Linked DNA regions of Homo sapiens: region 1 is linked to region 2. The links are contacts of gene promoters, found by promoter capture Hi-C in human tissues and cell types (Jung and others, 2019). All regions are on one chromosome and are shown on one strand. Each heading gives the region's core, a stretch centred on a gene start or on the middle of the fragment in contact. The rest is flanking DNA. Distances are from core to core; before and after follow the strand shown.

Evidence for each region. Contacts are between HindIII fragments. The study calls those that stand out against the background at their distance.
Region 1: a fragment that was not itself captured here is called in contact with the fragment with the promoter of OASL in region 2 in 1 of the 25 tissues and cell types used here (IMR-90 fibroblasts).

Annotation. Positions count from the first base shown.
Region 1 is chr12:120,695,630-120,701,281 of GRCh38, forward strand. It overlaps MLEC (malectin), which reads left to right. Exons shown (of 5, transcript NM_014730.4): 5 at 687-5,652. The coding sequence ends at 916. Among named protein-coding and RNA genes, the nearest start is that of MLEC, 11 kb to the left of the region's middle. The HindIII fragment of the contact is 3,246 bases long and covers 102-3,347 here.
Region 2 is chr12:121,037,656-121,043,828 of GRCh38, forward strand. It overlaps OASL (2'-5'-oligoadenylate synthetase like), which reads right to left and starts at 1,591. Exons shown (of 6, transcript NM_003733.4): 1 at 1,119-1,591. The coding sequence starts at 1,316. RefSeq lists enhancers at 755-1,256, 1,257-1,756, 1,336-1,755. The HindIII fragment of the contact is 11,669 bases long and covers 1-1,663 here.

The DNA.
Region 1 (5,652 bases), core at 475-2,974, 340 kb before region 2:
AAGTCTTAGAGTATATTTCTTTCTCAGGGTTTAGATTCTCCTGGCTGCCAGCATCTCAGGCTGATTTTTGCAGAGAAAGCTGCGTCTTTGTGACATTTCTCCCCCATTCCACCTCTGTACCTTTCCCCAACTCAATCTTGAATGCACTGAGGATTTCATCCTGTTGTCTTGATGTCCCCCAAATGCTGATATTATGACATCTAGGAGGATGAATGTCTTACCACCAAACAGACCTGTGTTCAAGTCCCTGAGGAGGAGGCAGGACAGAGGGATAGTGTGTGCTGGGAACCCAGAACTCTCTGGGTCAACGTTTCTTCAGTTGTTGTGTGAATCAAAAGGGAATGTGGGCTTGTGGGAGGAGGAGGGATTTGAAAAGGCTAAAGTTTAGGCATTGGATCATTGTCCCTGTCCAGTCTGGTTATCTTGGGGCTCTGTAAAAGTAGAACAGGAAGGTAAGATAGTGAACCTCCCTATGAGCACGGCTTTTTCTACTTTCTAGTTAAATCTAAAGCTTTTGCAGCACTCTGCTGTTCTGTAGACCAGAGGCTATTTCTGCTACTTCTGGTCTTTTCTCTGGACCCGGGTTCAATCACAGCAATCTCTTTATTGTGGCTTATTTGCTGCTTTTAAGGGTCTCTCTTACTTAAATGCTGTGGGTCTTAACAGTGTTTTCTTCCTTGTGTTAGATGTACCAAAGCTTCAGCCTCATCCGGGATTGGAGAAGAAAGAAGAGGAAGAAGAAGAAGAAGAATATGATGAAGGGTCTAATCTCAAAAAACAGACCAATAAGAACCGGGTGCAGTCAGGCCCCCGCACACCCAACCCCTATGCCTCGGACAACAGCAGCCTCATGTTTCCCATCCTGGTGGCCTTCGGAGTCTTCATTCCAACCCTCTTCTGCCTCTGCCGGTTGTGAGAACAAATGACTATCCTGAACAGGGTGGAGGGGTGTGGGAAAGAAACCAGCCATATTGGTTTTGGTTTCTGTATTTTTCACAATGATTAATGAACAAAAACAAAGAGAAAAAAACACACATCAATTAAAGGAGACAAAAAGAGGCAGAGCGAGTAGAGAGCAGCCCTCATTCACCACCTGGTCCCAGACGTGCTTCAGTCCTCGTCCTCTCTTTGTGGCTGGCTCCCAGCCTTCTCTTTCCTCTTGAGGATACTTAGGGTAAACTGGATCCTTCCTGCTCAAGGATCCTCATTTGTATACCTAGTGGAAAGGACTCTGAACTCAGAGGAGTCACTGTTCCTTTTTTTAGGTTAGAAATTAACAGCAGGGAAATGCCATCTTATTACCTGAGACGACCAGCACTGGGAGTTAGGTACGGTCTGAAGTTATGTCTAGATAAGACTTCAGACGTCCTGGGATTGAAAGAATGTGTGTGAAGGGGTAGAATTTGTGCGGTAAAGACTTAAAAAAAAAAGTAGGGAGATTAAAAAAAAAGAAAGAAAATGCTTCCTTATCTGGAAGCCTTTCTGGATTAATCCAGTGATGGTCCCACCTTTAGTGTTTGAGCTTTGTCATTGCTTGTCTCCCTGGCATGTGCCAGTTATAGACTGTCCAGCATCCAAGACGTTTCGGTTATGTCGGGTCCTCAGATCGCCTCTGACTTGTTACCACAACAAATCATTTTGATTTCAGTGCCTGTTGGGGACTTGATTTCTTCTCAGTTTTGTTTGTTTGTTTGTTTCCTTAATCTGGCTCATTTGAAATTTCTTCTCCCTCTCAACCATCCCACTAAGTTATAGCCAAGAAGGGAAGGAGACACGGGGATTTGGGGTTCTCTGCTTGAATGTCTTCTCCTTTACCACCTCACCTTGTTGGTACCTCCCTCCCTGGATCTCTGAGCCAGCAGCCAGGAGGACCTGACCCAGCAGTTCTTTACTGGCCCCTTTGTAGGGCCTTGCTGCCAGGGGGCAGGGATGCTTTCCAGCCTGCAGCAACAGAACACTTGACCTTAAAAGTCTCTTCTGGTCTTTGGATTAGAAAAGGCTTATGTTAGCATAGCTTAAGAGCAACCTCAGAGATTTGAGCCCTACTAAGTGACTGACCACTGTTTAGAGTGTCTGGTATCTGATGTTCATTTATTCCCATGTTCTTGTGTGTCACAGTTCAGCCAGTTTTGGTTTATGCCTAGAGCTACTTCAAGGAACTAGACTAATTAGCTATATAGGCCCAGCGATGCTTCTTATTGATCTTAATAGTATGCCCCTCCTTCCCCTGTCCTTTCATTTCTCTATCCAAGTAGCAGTCAGGTTCTTGGTGTGATGGGACTGAAAGAATTCCAGTCAGCCAGAGCCTTGGCAGCTCTGAAGCTAACCTTAGCATCTAAGTGTCGATCTTGAATTCCCTGAAAAAATTTCTATAGGAAATGAAGCTTCCCTGGTCCCCTCCTTTCTGGCCATTGTCATCCATTTCCCAGTTAGGGCAACAATGAAGGAGGACCCAGCCAAGCTAGAAGGAATTTTGTGGATGGGAGACAGCAGGATTAGCTTCAGCTTGGGCTGGAGCAGTCAATATAGGATCTCAGGCCAGGCCCGCTTTTCTAGAATGTGTTTAATTTTGAGTTTGCTTTATTAGATATGTTTTTTAAGAGCTCTGTATATTTGAACTGCTCCTTATGTGACAAAATAGGTAGCTCTTGGGCTCATGTCCTGGGTTTTGGCTCTTTAATGATTACTCCAGGCCAGCATTTAGTCGTTTGAGAATTGTAGCCTGTTGTTTTCGCTGTGACTTGGGTCTCAGTGCTAGGGTATTGAGTCAGGCAGCTGGAGGGTTGTGGCCCGAGGCTGCAGTCAGAGGTATACTTCCCATAGTGCTTCACACAGCTCCCCTGCTTCTAAAGGATAAGGTACTGTAGCCTTGGTCCTGGGGACCACCTGCCTGGGGCAGTGGACATCCTAACTAAACAGGCTTCTGGCAGTAGCTTTGGTTCCTATCCCATCGAAATTCCCCAAAGCCCTGGGCCACTGCCATTGGGTTAGTCAAGATGAAGGAGGAGGACTGGCTGCCTCCATTTTGCCTTGTTTGTTAGTTTGCCTGGGTCTGTCTGAGGAAGGAGGGGGTCCCGCCTTCCACCTCAACACATCCCTTCAGTGACTCAGAGTCTCAGAAGGAAACCCTGACTCCTGGGGCCATTTCCTAATGGTACTGTAAGCCAAGCAGCTTTGCTTCTGCCTCTGTTTCCAAGCCCACCCTTTTCCCCTGAGCTCAGGGTTAGGGATGGGCGCTTTCCTCTCTGGTTGTGAACGAAAGGAAGGAACATCTTTCTATGGCTAACAAAAACTAAAGGGGAAGTGAGGAAACAGGAAGAAGTATGGTGGGGGCTGGGGTAGACTCCCCTGGAGCCAAGCCTATCCAGCTAACAAGAGCTCCCTGGGGCTGGTCACAGCTGGCTCATGATGCTGAACTTGAAAGTTTTTTTGTTTTTGTTTTTGTTTTGTGGCTCCTCCAAGATATAGGTACATGAAGTTTAGGTTAAAGGGGTGGGATTCTTTATTTTTATTTTTGTATTGTATGTGTCAAGAATTACTCTGTTGTTCACCTTTTGCTTTTTGCACTGTTTGTTCTCTTATCTGTATTTTGAGCTTAGTGCTAGGACTGAGAGGCTGCACCATAGGGAATGTATGGGAGATGGTGAGGGGTGCCAGTGAGGGGTGCGTGGAGGAGAGGCCTGGGCTCCTCTACTGGATCTACACTCTGTCCCAGGTTTTTAGATCCCACTGAGCCCAGCTGACTGAAAACAAGGACAGTCAGGGTGAAACTTCTTTTGCCAGAAGTGTGGCCTGAGTTGAATTTCTGGGAGGATGACGCAGATGTCTGCTGCAGAGCTGGGCTGAGAGTTCTGCAGTCTAGCTCTGACTTAGGTCAGGGGCCTGTTGGTCTCTCATTGGACGTTTTTGGGTCTCACTCATGCTTACTGAAACATTGTGCCAAGAAACTCTGTGGGATTTGTGTCCCTTAAACCAGACTCACTTTTCTGAAAAATCTCCATTGTTGAGGAGAGGCTGCTCAATCGACACCCCGAGTTCTCATGACTGGGAAGATAGTTTTCTTCAGGTGTCAATGGCGTTAGACTCCCAGGAAGACTAGCCCTGCCCACAGGGCCACCTGTTGGTTTGAGAGCGTGTTCGTGTTCTCTTGCCCTCCCTGCCTAAGAGCTACTGGGATCACGTTAGCGGGCATTTAGGCTTTGATGAGAGGGCACAGTTTGAGTTAGGTTTACCTCCCCCTTTCTGTGCCTGGGAACTGTTTGGTCCAGCTTTAGAACTGTGGTTTTGACTTCCTTATCTCTTGGGAGAAGCTTCTGTTTTAAGGAATTTCTCTTCCTTCTTCTCCTGCCTCTAGCCTCTCCTGGAAAGGCCTGGATATGGTTTCTAAAATCTCAGCTGAGAACTTCAGAAAACAGCAGCAGTATTTTCCTTTTCCTAGTGCTAAAATCCCTTTCCCTAGAAATTGGCTCACCTTGGGAAACCCAGGGAAAGAATCAGCAGGTTCTCTGCCCTCCCTAGGGGTTGGGGAAGGACCCACCCCGGTCAGCACAGTGCCTTTTCCTCTCCTGCTCTGAGCCAGGGTGGGGCATTCCCTCTAGATTCAGGTTTGGGCAGGGGTCCTATAGTCCCTGCCATGGGGCTGCTTCCCTGTCCCTTCCCTCCCCTTTGCTGGCCTACTCTGGCATAATTCAAGTGTCTTCTTGCCTTGGGGATCCTTAGTGGCATCAAATGGCAACATGGAATATTGTCCTCCATGCCCCTCCAGAAGGACCTAGGAGAGTAGGTGAGCTTTCCAAAGTGAGAGACGAATCTTTCTTTCTTTTTTTTTTTAAAGGGCAGGATGGGTATGCTTTGGGCTTTCTCCTTCTGTGGCCCCGGAGGAAGGAGAGACTGAGGCAAGGCAAAGTGATAGTACACGGAAGCAGAACCGGAAACACCCAGGAACTGTTCAGAAATCTCAGAAGAAATCTGCTTCTCTTCGATGGAAAGATATAATTAACGATCAAAGAGCTCTAAGAAAATTGCAAAGAAGCCTTAATGTTCAAGCTTTAGAAAGATCAGAGCAATTTTTCTCTTTCAGTCCAAACTAAGACTCTCTGTATTTAAATCTCTCTGGGGCAAGAGGGCTAGATTTCCTCATTTTGTTATGAGACTAGATTGGTACCAGTAGATCAGCTGCCTAGCGAGGGCAGGTTTCTTCTTTGCATCTGTGTGGCTTGCTTCCAGTCTGGCCTGTCCTTTCCAGCTGCCTTTTGTCTAGCCTGCTATGGGGGGCCAGATTATCTTGATAAGAGCAGGTGATTTGGGGACTAGCTGGGTTGGCAGGAAAAGAGCAGGATGGATCTCTTGGGACAGGTTCCCCCAGGAGTATAAACACAAGGAGCCAGGATTGTGCTGGCAGCCAAGGAAACAGTAGTGCCTGTTTGAGTTGGCAGAGAGGGCCTTGGCACCTCTTGCATCCAGGCAGTCTTGTGAGATGGGGGCACATAGCACTGGGGAAAGCAGAACTCCATTCTCACCTCTATTTTGAGCTTCAGTGCTTTATTTCAGTATGAGGAAAAACAACAACAAACTGAAGTGCGCTTTCCGTCCTTTCAAAGGACAACTGTCGGGAAGGGAGAGCCGAGTTGCGAGGTAGGAGGGGAGCACTGG
Region 2 (6,173 bases), core at 341-2,840:
CAGCTACTTGGGAGGCTGAGGCAGGGGAATTGCTTGAACCTGGGAGGCAGAGGTTGCAGTGAGCTGAGATCGTGCCACTGCACTCCAGCCTGGTGACAGAGCAAGACTCTGTCTCAAAAAAAAAAAAACAAAAACAAAAATCATTTTATTGGCCGGCCAGACATGGTGGCTCACACCTGTAATCCCAGCACTTTGGGAGGCCAAGGTGGGCATATTCTTGATCCCAGGAGTTCGAGACCAGCATGGGCAACATTGGTGAAACCCTATCTCTACAAAAAATACAAAAATTAGCTGAGCATGGTGGTGCATGCCTGTAATCCCAAGCTATTTAGGAGGCTGAGGATCACCTGAGCTCAGGGAGATTGAGGCTACAGTGAGTGGTGATTGTGCCACTGCACTCCAGCCTGGGTGACAGAGCGAGACCCTGTCTCTAAAAAAAAAAAAAGTCATTTTATTATCAAAAAGTTAAAACACATAGAAAAATAGATGATACAACTAACACTCATATACCCAACTAGTTGATTCAACAAGTCTAAATTCCTGGCTACATGTGCTTAATCTAAGCCACGTTAAAGTAAATTATAGGCACCAAGGAACTTTGTCCCTAAAATACTTCAGTGTTCGTGTCCAAACAAAAGACAACCTTCTGATAACCACAAAACTACTGTTACACCTAACAAAATCAACAATGATTTCCCATATCAGATATATGTACTATCTGATATCTAGGCCAGTTGTCCCCAAACTATATTTTACAGATGGTTCATTCACACTAGGATCCAACCAAGGACCTCGCATTGTATTGGTTCTGAGCCTCCATTTGCTAATCTGTAAACTGGGCAAAGAATAGTACCTATCTCACAGAGTGCAAGAATTAGAGATAGTGTATGTTAAGAGGTTAGTCCAGTGAGCCCCCAAATGTGAGCTATTATTACTAGACTCATTCTACTCAAGGCAGTGGTGCAGTGGGGTGTAGACAGCTAGGTGGGATGGGGTATTCTGAGATGTCATCAGCATGGGCTAGGGATAAGGAGGACAGGGGTCCCCAGCATCCCCAGGGACGTGGACTCTGATACTGGGTTTTGTCTTGCGTGGGGGCTGGAGGAGCCCAGTCTTACCTTGACTACCTTCAGCACCCGCACATCCTGGTCCAGCCCACGCTTCCCCTGGAAATGCTCCTGCCTCAGAAACTCCTCCACGGTCCGCACAGCGTCTAGCACCTCTTCCTTCCACTCCCGGTGGGGCTGCAGCCACTGAGCCACGAAGGAGTCCAGCCTGGAGGCTGGTGTGCTATACAGTTCCTGCATCAGTGCCATCTCTGTCCCGAGAGTACCGCTGCTGGGCAGATATATAGCCAGGCTCCTACCCAGCTCCCTGGCACACACCTCCTTTTTTAAGGTAGCTCCTCCTCAGCTGCCCTCCAGTGCTCTGTGGGAGGAGGGACCCTAGCAGAGAGGAAACCAGGTGTGACGGGCTGACTCCAGGTCCCCCTTCTTGGAGACACCCTTGCTGCAGTAGGGGCACAGGAGGACTCTGGGCTGAGGCTGGAATATCTGGGGCCACCTTAACAGGCTGGCCGTCTAGTCAATCTGTCATCAGTTTCGATTCTCAACTTTTAGAGTTCTCCTTTATGACGTTGGGAAACTGAAGTTGGATAGTGTTTGACCCCAAAGGAGGCAACTTGCCCAGTAGGTTGGGGTTGGATAGTTGTTAGTCAATTCAACTGCTTACATCTGTCTAAGGAAATTGAGGCTTGGGAACGGAAGGGACTCACTAGTGTTCAGGTGGTGGAGTGAGAATCTGGAGCCCAAGAGAACAGACTGGGAATTCTAGTCTACCTGTGCCAGACTCTAACCTCTTTGACCCTCACTATTCATAGAGTGGGTTTTTTTGTTTTTTTGTTTTTTTTTTTTTTTGGCCGGGTCTTGCTCTGTTGCCCAGGCTGGAGTGCAGTGGTGCAATCTCAGCTCACTACAACCTCTGCCTCACGGGTTCAAGCGATTCTCCTGCCTCAGCCTCCCTAGTAGCTGGGACTACAGACATGTGCCACCACGCCCGGCTAATTTTTTTTTTGTATTTTTAGTAGAGACGGGGGTCTCACCATTTTGGTCAGGCTGGTCTCAAACTCCTGACCTCAAATGATCCGCCCACCTCGGCCTCCCACAGTGCTAGGATTACAGCGTGAGCCACCGCGCCCGGCCCATAGAGTGGGTTTAACAGGTATTATGATTCACGCACTGAACCAAGAAGTTCATGCATTGAGCCAAGAAGACAAAATAAGATGAGGTTCCTGTTCCAAGGGGACTCCCAGAACGGTGGAGGAGACACAGAAAAAAGAGACTGCAAAAGTCCAGTGCGATGAGTTAAGTAGGAAAAAAGCATGAAAACATGAAGCCGGCAGATGAGTTTCATTTGGTGTTAGCAGACACCTGCTTGAGAGGAATCTTAAAGACTGGGGATCCGGGCTGGGCATGGTGGCTCATGCTTGTAGTCCCAGCACTTTGGGAGGCCAAGGTGAGAGGATCACTTGAGGCCAGGAGTTCAAGACCAGCCTGGGCAACATAGCTGGACACCTGCAACTTCCCAAACTCTGAATAATATTAAGTGCTCCAGGGCTTAGTCCTGGGTCCTTTTCTCTTCTTGTTCTAGACTTACTCCCTTGGTGATTTCAGCCAGCGTTTAAATGTTTTTACTCTGGCAACTTCCACATTTTAATTTTATTTTTATTTATTTGTTTATTTTTGAGATGGAGTCTCACTGTCTCGCCCAGGCTGGAGTTCAGTGACACAATCTCGGCTCACTGCAACCTCTGCCTCCCAGGTTCAGGCGATTCTTGTGCCTCAGCCTCCCAAGGAGCTGGGATTACAGGAGCCCGCCACCGCGCCTGGCTAACTTTTTGTATTTTTAGTAGGGACAGTGTTTCACCATGTTGCCCAGGCTGGTCTTGAACTCCTGATCTGCCCTCCTCGGCCTCCCAAAGTGCTGGGATTACAGGCGTGAGCCACCATACCCAGTGACTCCCACATTTGTATCTTAAATCCATACCTCTTCCCTGAAATCCAGACTCATGTATCCAACTCCCCACTCCACATTGGCTTTGAATTCCGGTCTGCCCTTTGCCACACTTGTAACTTCTCTGCTTCTGTGGTGAGGATGATTGCAAGGGCAAGAACAGATGTAGGGAGATGGTCAGGACACTGCACAGTGGTGCAGGTGAGAGGCAGTGGTGGCCTGGAGTTTAAAACTCCAGTTTTTGTTTTAAAAACAAAAAGTTTTTTAAAAAATAGCTAGGTGTGGTGGTGTCCACCTGTAGCCCCAGCTACTTGGGAGGCTGAGGTGGGAGGACCACTTGAGTCTAGGAGTTTCAGGCTGCAGTGAACTATCATGGTGCCACTGCACTCCAGCCTGGGTGACAGCATGAGACTCTGTCTCCAAATAAAAAATAAAAAAGACTGGCACTCCAGCCAGGAGGATGAGGGTACAGCATAGAGGCTGAGAAGTATAAATAATGCTAGGATATGCCAGGGACTCAAGTGTGCTGTGTGCCTTGGGATGAAAGGGTGAGCAGGGGAGAGGTTAGAAATGTACCTGGACAGGTGGGCAGGATTGAATCTTGGAGTGCTATTCACTCATTCGTTCACTCATTCAACAGATACTTACTGGGCACCTACTCTGTGCCAGGCAGGTGCTGTGGATACAACAGTGAACAAACAGTAGTGAAAAATCCCTACCTGCAGATAGTTTTCTTTCTGGTAGTGGAGACAAACAACAAATAGGATAAATAGGTAAAATTATAGTAAAGAAGACGGTGATAAGTGCTAAGCAGAAAAACAAAGCAAGAGAAGGGATTAAGAGGTTGTGTGTGTGTGTGTGTGTGTGTGTGTGTGTGTGTGTGTGTGTGTTGGGGGCATGTATTTAGGTTTCAGTCTTACATAAGGTGATTAGGGAAGGCCTCCCTGAAAAGGAGACATCTGAGCAAAGACATAAGAAGGTGAAGAGTTTGGGAGGCCAAGACGGGTGGATCACAAGGTCAGGAGATCGAGACCATCCTGGTTAATACGGTGAAACCCCATCTCTACTAAAAGTACAAAAAATTAGCCGGGCGTGGTGGCAGGCACCTGTAGTCCCAGCTATTCGGGACGCTGAGGCAGGAGAATGGCGTGAACCCAGGAGGCAAAGCTTGCAGTGAGCCAAGATTGCACCACTGAACTCCAGCGAGACTCCGTCTCAAAAAAAAAAAAAAAAAAGAAGGTAGAGTGAGCCACGTGTGTAACAGAAGGAAGAAGATTCTTCATGGCAGAAGGAGTGGAAAGTACGAGGACCCTGTGGTGGTACTGCCCGGTGGCAAGTATAAGGAACATCAGTGTGCCTGGAACGGAGTGATCAAGAGCAGAGAGTGGAAGGGAATGCGGTTTAAGTAGTAAAGGGTGGCAAGGCAAATAGATACAGGATCCTTTTTTTTTTTTTTTTTGAGATGGAGTTTCACAATTGTTGCCCAGGCTAGAGTGCAATGGCACAATCTCGGCTCACTGCAACCTCCACCTCCCAGGTTCAAGCGATTCTCCTGCCTCAGCCTCCTGAGCAGCTGGGATTCAAGGTGCCCACCGCCACACCTAGCTGATTTTTGTACTTTTAGTAGAGACGGTGTTTCACCATGTTGGCCAGGCTGGTCTCTAACTCCTGACCTCAGGCGATCCACCCGCCTCGGCCTCCCAAAGTGCTGGGATTACAGGCGTGAGCCACCGCACCCAGCCAGGATATAAGATCTTTTTAAAAAGATTTATTCCATAAACAAGGAGCAGGAGTGGATAGGATCTTGAAGACGACTGTTAGGAGTTGGCTTTACTCTGAATGAAATGGGGAACCACTGGGGAGCATTTTTTGTTGTTCTGTAGGAGTCTGACACCATACATTGGAGAGTTTTGAGTGGAGGAGTGACACGGTCTTTCATTTTAATGGAATTAATCACATTGGCTGCTGGGAGGAAATTAAATTAGAAGCAGAGGGTGGAGTGGAGGTGAAAGTGGAGGCAGAAGTATGGTTAGGAGGCTACTGCAACAGTCCAGGCAAGAGGTCAGTTGACTTGGATCAGAGTGGTAGCAGTGAAATAGTATGTTTTAATTTTTCTGATTTTGGAACATTTCAAACAAAGTGGAATAATACAATGAACCTCCATGTACCATCACCAGTTTCAACAATGATCAACTTATAGACAGTCTGGTTTCAATTCTACCCCCATCCCTAGATTCCCTACTGTGTTATTTGGAAGTGAATCTGGACATCATGTCATTCCGCTGGATATATTTTGACTCCAAGGCTGACAGGTCTTGCTAATGGGTAGAGTATGATGAGAGAGAAAGATCAGAGTCAAGGTCTAAGTCCGGGGCTTTTGGCCTTAGCAACAGAAAGGTTGAACTGCCCTTAACTGAGGTGGGATAGGCTGGGCATGGAGATGAGGAAGGAACTCAGTTTTGGAACTGAAGTTTGGGGTGTCTGTCAGAGACCCAGGTGGAGATATGTGGTGGGGAGTTGGATATGCGAGTCTGTATTACAGGGAGGAGGTCTGGACTTGAGATAAAATGTGGGGGTCACCGGCATAGGGATGTTTAAAGCCATGACACTGAATGAGATCACCAAGGGAGTGATGACACAGCAGGAAGAGAAAAAGACCCAGGACTGAGCCCCAGAGCACTTAATATTATTCGGAGTTTAGGGAGTTGCACGAGTCCAGCAAAGAAGAAGGAAAAGAAGTAGCTAGTGAGGTGGAAGAGAAATCAGGAGTGATGGTTTGAAGGCCAAGTGAAGATATTGTTTTAAGAAAGAGGAAATGGGATGGGCATGGTGGCTCACACCTGAAATCCCAGCACTTTGAAAGTCAAGATGGGAGGATCGCTTGAGCCCAGGAATTCAAGATCAGCCTGGGCAACATGGCAAAACCCCATCTCTACAAAAAAATACAAAAATTAGCCAGGTATGATGGTGAGTGCCCATAGTCCCAGCTACTCAGGAGGCTGAGGTAGGAGGATCACCTCAGTCCAGGGAGGTCGCGGCTGCAGTGAGCCATGATCATGCTACTGCACTCCAGCCTGGGTGACAGAGTGAGACCCTGTCTCAAAAAAAAAAAAAAAAAAAAAAGGAGAAGAAGAAGAAGAAGAAATGGAAATGATCCACTG